Regions from separate parts of the Homo sapiens genome. Here region 1 is linked to region 2. The links are contacts of gene promoters, found by promoter capture Hi-C in blood cells and fetal thymus (Javierre and others, 2016). All regions are on one chromosome and are shown on one strand. Each heading gives the region's core, a stretch centred on a gene start or on the middle of the fragment in contact. The rest is flanking DNA. Distances are from core to core; before and after follow the strand shown. Region 1 has its middle 4.9 kb from the start of NEDD4. Region 2 holds the start of RSL24D1 (ribosomal L24 domain containing 1).

Evidence for each region. The method cuts DNA at HindIII sites, captures the fragments that hold promoters and counts their contacts. A CHiCAGO score of 5 or more calls a contact.
Region 1: a contact is called between a fragment that was not itself captured here and the fragment with the promoter of RSL24D1 in region 2, in 1 of 17 cell types (non-activated CD4 T cells). The highest score is 5.3, in non-activated CD4 T cells.

The regions. Positions count from the first base shown.
Region 1 is chr15:55,996,626-56,000,321 of GRCh38, forward strand. No RefSeq gene overlaps it. Among named protein-coding and RNA genes, the nearest start is that of NEDD4, 4.9 kb to the left of the region's middle. The HindIII fragment of the contact is 1,743 bases long and covers 396-2,138 here.
Region 2 is chr15:55,195,416-55,198,833 of GRCh38, forward strand. RSL24D1 (ribosomal L24 domain containing 1) reads right to left here and starts at 1,526. Exons shown (of 6, transcript NM_016304.3): 1 at 1,395-1,526. The coding sequence starts at 1,475. RefSeq lists enhancers at 646-1,537, 1,331-1,490. The HindIII fragment of the contact is 1,416 bases long and covers 1,512-2,927 here.

The sequences.
Region 1 (3,696 bases), core at 17-2,516, 800 kb after region 2:
AGTAGAATACATAGTCCCAATCAATTCATTGGTCTTGCCTGACCCTCTTTTTGCTAAGCTGGATTCTGACTTCTAACAGGCTGTTGTGCTCCCTCATCTTGGTGATAAAGGTTCTCATCACTCCCTCCTGGAATTAGTAGATGTATCTGTGTTCCCGCTGGCCTCTAGCTGTGGACATCTTTATCAAGTAGAATTACATTTGGCTGTTACCTAAACTAATAAGATTTAAAGATTCATGTTATATGGCTGTCATGTAAAAGTCTAGACAGTGGGCAGGGCAGGGTTAATATGGCTAGTTTGCTCTGCCAAAGGGTCAGAAATTCAGGCACTTCACAGCTCACTGCTCTGATGTTTGTAGGTGTGACCCTTATCCTCATAGTCCAGAGAGTGGCTCAAGCTTCAATCATTACGTCTATGTTCCAGGTTACAAGGCAGAGGAAGGAGTAAAGAAGAGAGTTCAGGTATCATGGTCATCTTTTAAAATGCCCTCCTCACCCCACAAGGGGTGGGAGGTAGTGAGAAAGACGGCCAGGTGCAAGGCAGTGGGACCCAGGTGTGTTCAAGGAAGGGTTTGCTTGGTGGACTGGTGATGGCAGAAATGGGAAATTAGTTACTTGTAGAGACAAGTGATCCAATAAGTGAATATATGAATGATAATGAGAACCACATTAGTCACTGTTGAAGAAGTTACAAGAATGGAAAGAGAAAACTTGAATGAGTCTTGTGTTGTTATAATGAAATTGGTGGTGTTGATATGAACTCAAAAGTTTTTAACATATATATATAGTATATAAATAAATGTAGATGTAAACCTCTGCTGCATACACACACACACACACACACACACACACACACACACAAATATTTTCTACATTTGTATTCTAAGAGGGCCTGGGAACAATGACACCCCAAAAGCAATGAGCATATCTTGCATCCATATTTTAACTTTTTACTAAAAGAAACCAGGGCTCCTTGGAAAAATGGCTGATTCCAGGACTAGGACAAGGCAAATAAAAGTTGAGCCTGAAACATCTTGTTATCCCAGAAAATAATGAAAGTAATGATGGAGACAGAATAAAAGGACACAGGAACCAACCTGAAAAAAGCTCCCACTGGCCAAAGATGGCCTAACTTGAGCACTAAAATAAATTATGATAGCAACAGATTATAATCCAATGAATAATTCTGGTACCATGTGTTCATTACAGATATAAATTATAATAAATGAGTACATTCAAAGTTCAATGAAAAATGAGATTTTTACAGGGTTCAACATATATTTCCAGAAAGTACTTAGTTACATAGATTAAAAGGCTGAAATATACCACCTTAATCAAATGATCAAAGTGAACATTTGATAAACCAAAATCTTGCAACCCATTGCTTTTCCTCCATAACTTGGATCTAATCATGAGAAAACAAATCCAATTTAAGGAACGTACTACAAAATATCTGCCCTGTAATCTTCAAAAGTGTCAAGGACATAGAAGTCAAGAAAGTTGGAGGAACTGTTCCAGACTGACAGATTAAAGACCCTGTATTATGGTTCCCTAGAGAAACAGAACCAATAGGATGCAGATATATAAAGAGATTTGTTATGGCTGGGCACGGTGGCTTACGCCTATAATCCCAGGTTTGGAGTGCAGTGGTGCTATCTTGGCTCACTGTAACCTCTGCCTCCTGGGTTCAGGTGATTCTCTTGCCTCAGTCTCCTGAGTAGCTGGGATTACTGGTATGTGCCACCATGCCTGGCTAATTTTTCTATTTTTAGTAGAGATAGCGTTTCACCATGTTGGCTAGGCTGGTTTTGAACACCTGGCCTCAAGTGATCTGCCTGCCTTGGCCTCCTAAAGTGCTGGGATTACAGGCATGTGCCATCATACCCAGTGTCAACATATTTTTTTCTACCAGGAGTTTCAAAGCTCTATTTTAAAACTTATAAGCTGAGCATTGACTTATCTTTCTCTTTTCATTTCTGTAGTAACAGTTCTAGCCTGAGGGCAGTAATCAGAAAACCTCACTGCTGTCTGACTGGAGCCAGAGGAAGGGCGGCAGGATATTCCAGGAATATAAGTAGTTATCAACAATAAAATTTCACAATACCTTGCTATAGCTTCCACACCCTTATCTCTTACCTAAGCTTCAGACCTGTATTTCCCACTAACTGTCTCTTTCTTGGTATCATGAAAAAAGTCTCAAACTAAATAGATCCCAAAATGAACTCATTATAATCCTGTATTCTGTGTCTCTGGAAATAGCATTATTGTCTATCTAGTTGCAAAGGCTAGAGACTTCTGAGTATTCTAAAATTCATACCCCCTGCCCATTCCTACAACTTCTTCCTATCACCAGTTTGTTATACAATTGAAATTCTTTCCTCTTCTACCTAAGATTTTTTTTCTCTTCTTATTGGTATCCATGGCTAATGTCGGTACACCCATCATTGTCTGGTAATTGGCTCAGACTGGTAGCTTTTTGTCTTTTTTTGTTTCACCCTATATCTTCTGAGACAAATGTTTGCATGCAGTAATTTTTTTTGAGACACACTCCCAAGCAGTAGTGTGCTGGACTCAACTCATACTGGCATCCAAGGTACAATTGTGTACACCTCTATCCAACTGCAGATTTGGTGATGTCATGTTGGTAGCTTGAAATTATGGTGTATTTATATCACAGAAATAGGCAAACACTACAAACCAAGATCATTTTATTTTCCTGGAGAGGCAGTTATTAAACATTTATCGGAACGCGACTGAGCCTAGGAAACATGAGTGAGGGACTGAAAAGAGTAAAACAAGGAATGGCATAAGACCCATGCAGTGATTTTGTAAATTTTTTAGTTTCCTTTACATGATTAACCTGATTTGGGCTCGATATCACTAAGGACCCTTCAGGAGTCATATAGAATGTACCTCAGAATTGTTCTACCAAGAAGGGAGTATTTATTCGTTAGTTTCCATTCCCTATTGGACAGGGGTTATTTCATAGGATGTTAATATTTGCAGATTTCCTTGTGTATAGAATGGCTGAATTGGCTCCTACAGGTATGTCCAACAGCAGTGGCAGTGAGGCACAGGGGCAGAAAGTGAAATATACATTAAACAACTAAAATGAGTTGCTGTCTGGTTACATCTCTACATCTTTGGTTGCTGCAGCAAGGACTGGAGTAAAGGTTAGTTGAGAGGGTATGAGTCAGAGTGCAAGAGGAATCTAATACATGTGCAGATCTGCCCCACACTTAGTCCATTCTGCCGTAGGGTCTTTGAGGTGTGTCCAGTATTTACCTCTCCAAAAGACTTGATAGACAAGGGTTTCTAGGATAAGCTGCAGCATCTACTGTGTAACTGGTCTCAGGGTCATAAATGATATGCATTATCTCTCTCCTATACCACCCACTCTCAATTTTCCCATTCTTGGCCAGTACTTCAGCAAATTTAGGTTATTGCCTGGTGGGGACTCAGATTTTCCTCCCCAAGAGGTATGATTTGTCAGTTGTGTTTAACTTATTGGGTCATGGTTCTAGTAATTGCCCATTTAGAATTGTCATTGGACATGCAAGTACTAAAATATGCGGTGGATCCCCTGAGTTCCAAACATACGCTTTCTTGTCTTTCTTGTGTAACTCAACCATAGCTCCTATACCTCCCTGCCAATACGGTAATTACTATGTTTGTCTATTGGTCCACTAACATGAGA
Region 2 (3,418 bases), core at 276-2,775:
TATCTTTTATTTCCTCCAACAACTCTCTTCTGGATCCACTGGTGACTCCCAACCAACTCAACACTGTCCTTATTCTTCATCAACTTAACTTCCACTGTGTCTACCAAATCAATACCCAGGTCTTGACAGTTCTCACGATCTGTTGTTCTAATTCCAATATCCAGCCGACAAGCATCCTGGACGAAAATCACAAAATCGTAACGACATCATGTATAAAACCATACTGCCTACTCTGAATTAGACCCCAACCTGGCAATCTTTTGGTTCATTTTTATAAACTTCTTATCATGTTCCTGAGAGCAAGTATTCAAAATCTTCTAGGTTCTTTTACGTTATCAAACATGGCTTTGGTCCGTCACTTTCAGCTGAATCCCTTGGATCTAATTAATGAGGTCAATATCTTTGATCTGTTACAGAGATATAAGGTGAAGAAGTCAGACTTGTAATTATTTAGCACGTCAAATTCACCTTAATATACAGATTCTTAGACCCTCTTCCCCTCCCCCAAAGATTCCAACTCAATAGATCTGGTGAAAACCAGGAATCTGTAAACGCCCAGTAATTCAGAAGCAAACGTAAGAGATCAAATTCTGAGAAACAATGTGTTTCTCTGAGAAAGAGAGGAACGGGATTCATTCTGTAATGACAGGACAAATTCATGTACCATTCAAAACGTCTTTCACAACTAGGACTCATATTTATTATTTACGTTTACAGACTTATTATACTTGTAGCCCTACGCCCAAGGCTCTATCATCATTTACAATCCAGTCACTTCCTCAAACAAATGTATTTGCTCCGTTCTCTGCCTTTTCTCAAAATGTTCACTTTCCTTCCACTTAGAAGGCCCCCTCCGCTTTCTTCCGCAAAATTCAGGATCCAAGATAAATATCACCTCTATGCTGAGTCTTTCCGTACAGGACCCTCCCCAACTCACCTGCAGTAACTTAATACATAACTCTACCATTAAGCAATACGGAACACTTCCATCAACCTCTACACTTTAGTATGGACCTTAGTGTAATGCCTGACAGGGTATACACTCAACAAAGTTTACTGGATTCAAGAATTTGGCCCAAGTACATGAGTGGCCAAACAGCCCTCACAGACATCCAAGATTCCTGGTAGGCGCTAGCTGGGATCGCTCCTGAAGTTCCTCGCTGCCAACGCCACCCAAGGGTGGCGTGGTGGCCAGCGCCGCTCGGAAGACGGGCAAGGAGAAACCCCCGAAGCGGAACGTTGAGAACGGAGGCCCAGTTAAGCCACCCTCCCAGGGGAACAACGGGAGGAACCCGGGCCAAACACGGCAGACGCAGAAGCACCCAGCACCGAGCCGCCGCGCCCAGGAACCGCGGGAGCTAGGCTGAAGCAAGAACTGGTGTCGACCGCCTTACCTTGCAATCGTTGCGGACGAACATCATGCCGTGTCCAGGATAGATGGGCCCCGAACAGAAATAACACTTTTCGATACGCATGTTGAACCCGCGTGTAACCCCACCAAACAAACGCCAAGCTTGAGAGGAAGTGATGCAACCCCGTCACCGGAAGTTACCTTCTTCCCCCTTCCCCGACCGGAAAAAGGCAAGCGTCCTTCGTTCTCGCGGGTCTGTTAGACCAGATGCGAACACGACTGTGCCTCCGGCGGCCGTGTGGTCAAATGCGCTGCCGTTTGACGCAGGCGCAGAGCTGCAGACTAGACCTGTTCGCTGTTACTTTGGGGAAATGTGGTTCTGCGCCACCTTGTGAACTTGCTCTCACAGCGCCTAGTTTTTTCTCTCTGTGTGTCGGCATTTATGCAAGTATTATGTATCTTTGGTTTGTGCTTTGCCTCGGAGTGCTCTCGAGAGCACTCTCTTAACTCATTTGTCTACTGCCTGCCCTAGACCAGCCCTCGATTCTCGTCCCACAGTGATTTGCAGGGTGTAAGCGGCGAAGACCCTGCAATCCAGCGTTGCTTCGAACATTGCAATGAAAACGGTTGAGTTGCTGATGCTCCAAGGACTTTACCAGCAATTTTTTTAAATATAAAATCGTGTTATCCGCCTCCCCCCCATTTTAATTAATATGCATATGTAGTAAACAAATATTTTCGCCGGAAACTACGACTCCCTCCCTAGACCTGCGGTCTTCCTCCCCAGGGGCAAAACAGTTCCATTTATTACCTGCCAGAGCTTTTCTGTGCATAGGCAAACATGTATATTTGTGTGTTTGCCTGTCTCTACGTCCTCTTCTTTATAATACTAGTTAATATGCTATTTACTCTTTTCTGCATCTTGCTGTTACCTTGTATCCCTTCATTGGAATGTGAGCTCCATGAGGGGCAGGGATTTCAGTTCGTTTGGTTTACAACTACATCCCAGTATCTAGAACAGTCCCTGGCACATAATAGGCATTTGATACATATTTTACTGTAAAAGGGTATTTAACATTCTTTTTCATATATATATGCCATTGTATGAAAGTATTTTAATTGGTCACTAATCGATGGGCATTCTTATCTTTTGATATAATAAGTATCTGTTGGTACGCTTTTTCAGGAGAGGGTTTATGTAGAACTGCTGGATCAGAGGAGCTGGATATAGATAAATAGTTTTAAAATTTGGCAGATAATACTAAATTGCCTTCCAAAAGTTTTTACCAATTAACACTCAGCATCAACAAATAAGATGTCTGTTTCACTACCCCGCTGTGAAAAGTGATCTTTGCCAACCTGAGATGAAAATTTATCTTATTATTATTTCAACTTGAATTTAATTACAAATGATGTTAAGAATCTTTCACAATGTTTTTCAGCTTTTTTCTGTGAATTGCCTGTTCAGGTCCTACGCAGTTTTCTATTCTTTCGTTGATTTTCAACAGCACTTTACACGTTAAGGTTAGTCCTTTGCTGACATGCATTTAGAAATTATTTCCCTATCAATGTTTTAAGCTTTGCTCATGGTATTTTTCCATGCAGAAATATGTTGTTTATATATTCAGATTTATCCAATTTTTTTATGATTTTGGATTTGGTACTTTCCTTTAAACTGCACTTCTCACTCCAAAATTGTTTTTCAAAATGTTTTCTCTTATGTTTTGTAGTTTCATTTTTTTGCATTTGAATTTTCAACTCGTCTGGAATTTAAGTATAAATGACATAAGACTCCAGTGTCTTTCCCTCAGTGCTGTATGTTGATAAAGCATCCTTTCCCCCACTCACTCATAATGTCACATCTATGGCTCCATTTCTGGACTCAGTTCCATCGTTTTATTTGTTAATGTGCCACTGCCCAAATATTTAAATTATTGTCATTTTTTGAATAACTGGGTTTACCTCCTCTCCCTTTCTATTAGTTTTCATGCTGCTGATAAAGACATACCCTAGACTAGGCAATTTATACAGGAAAGAGGTTTAATGGACTCTTTATGGCTGGGGACA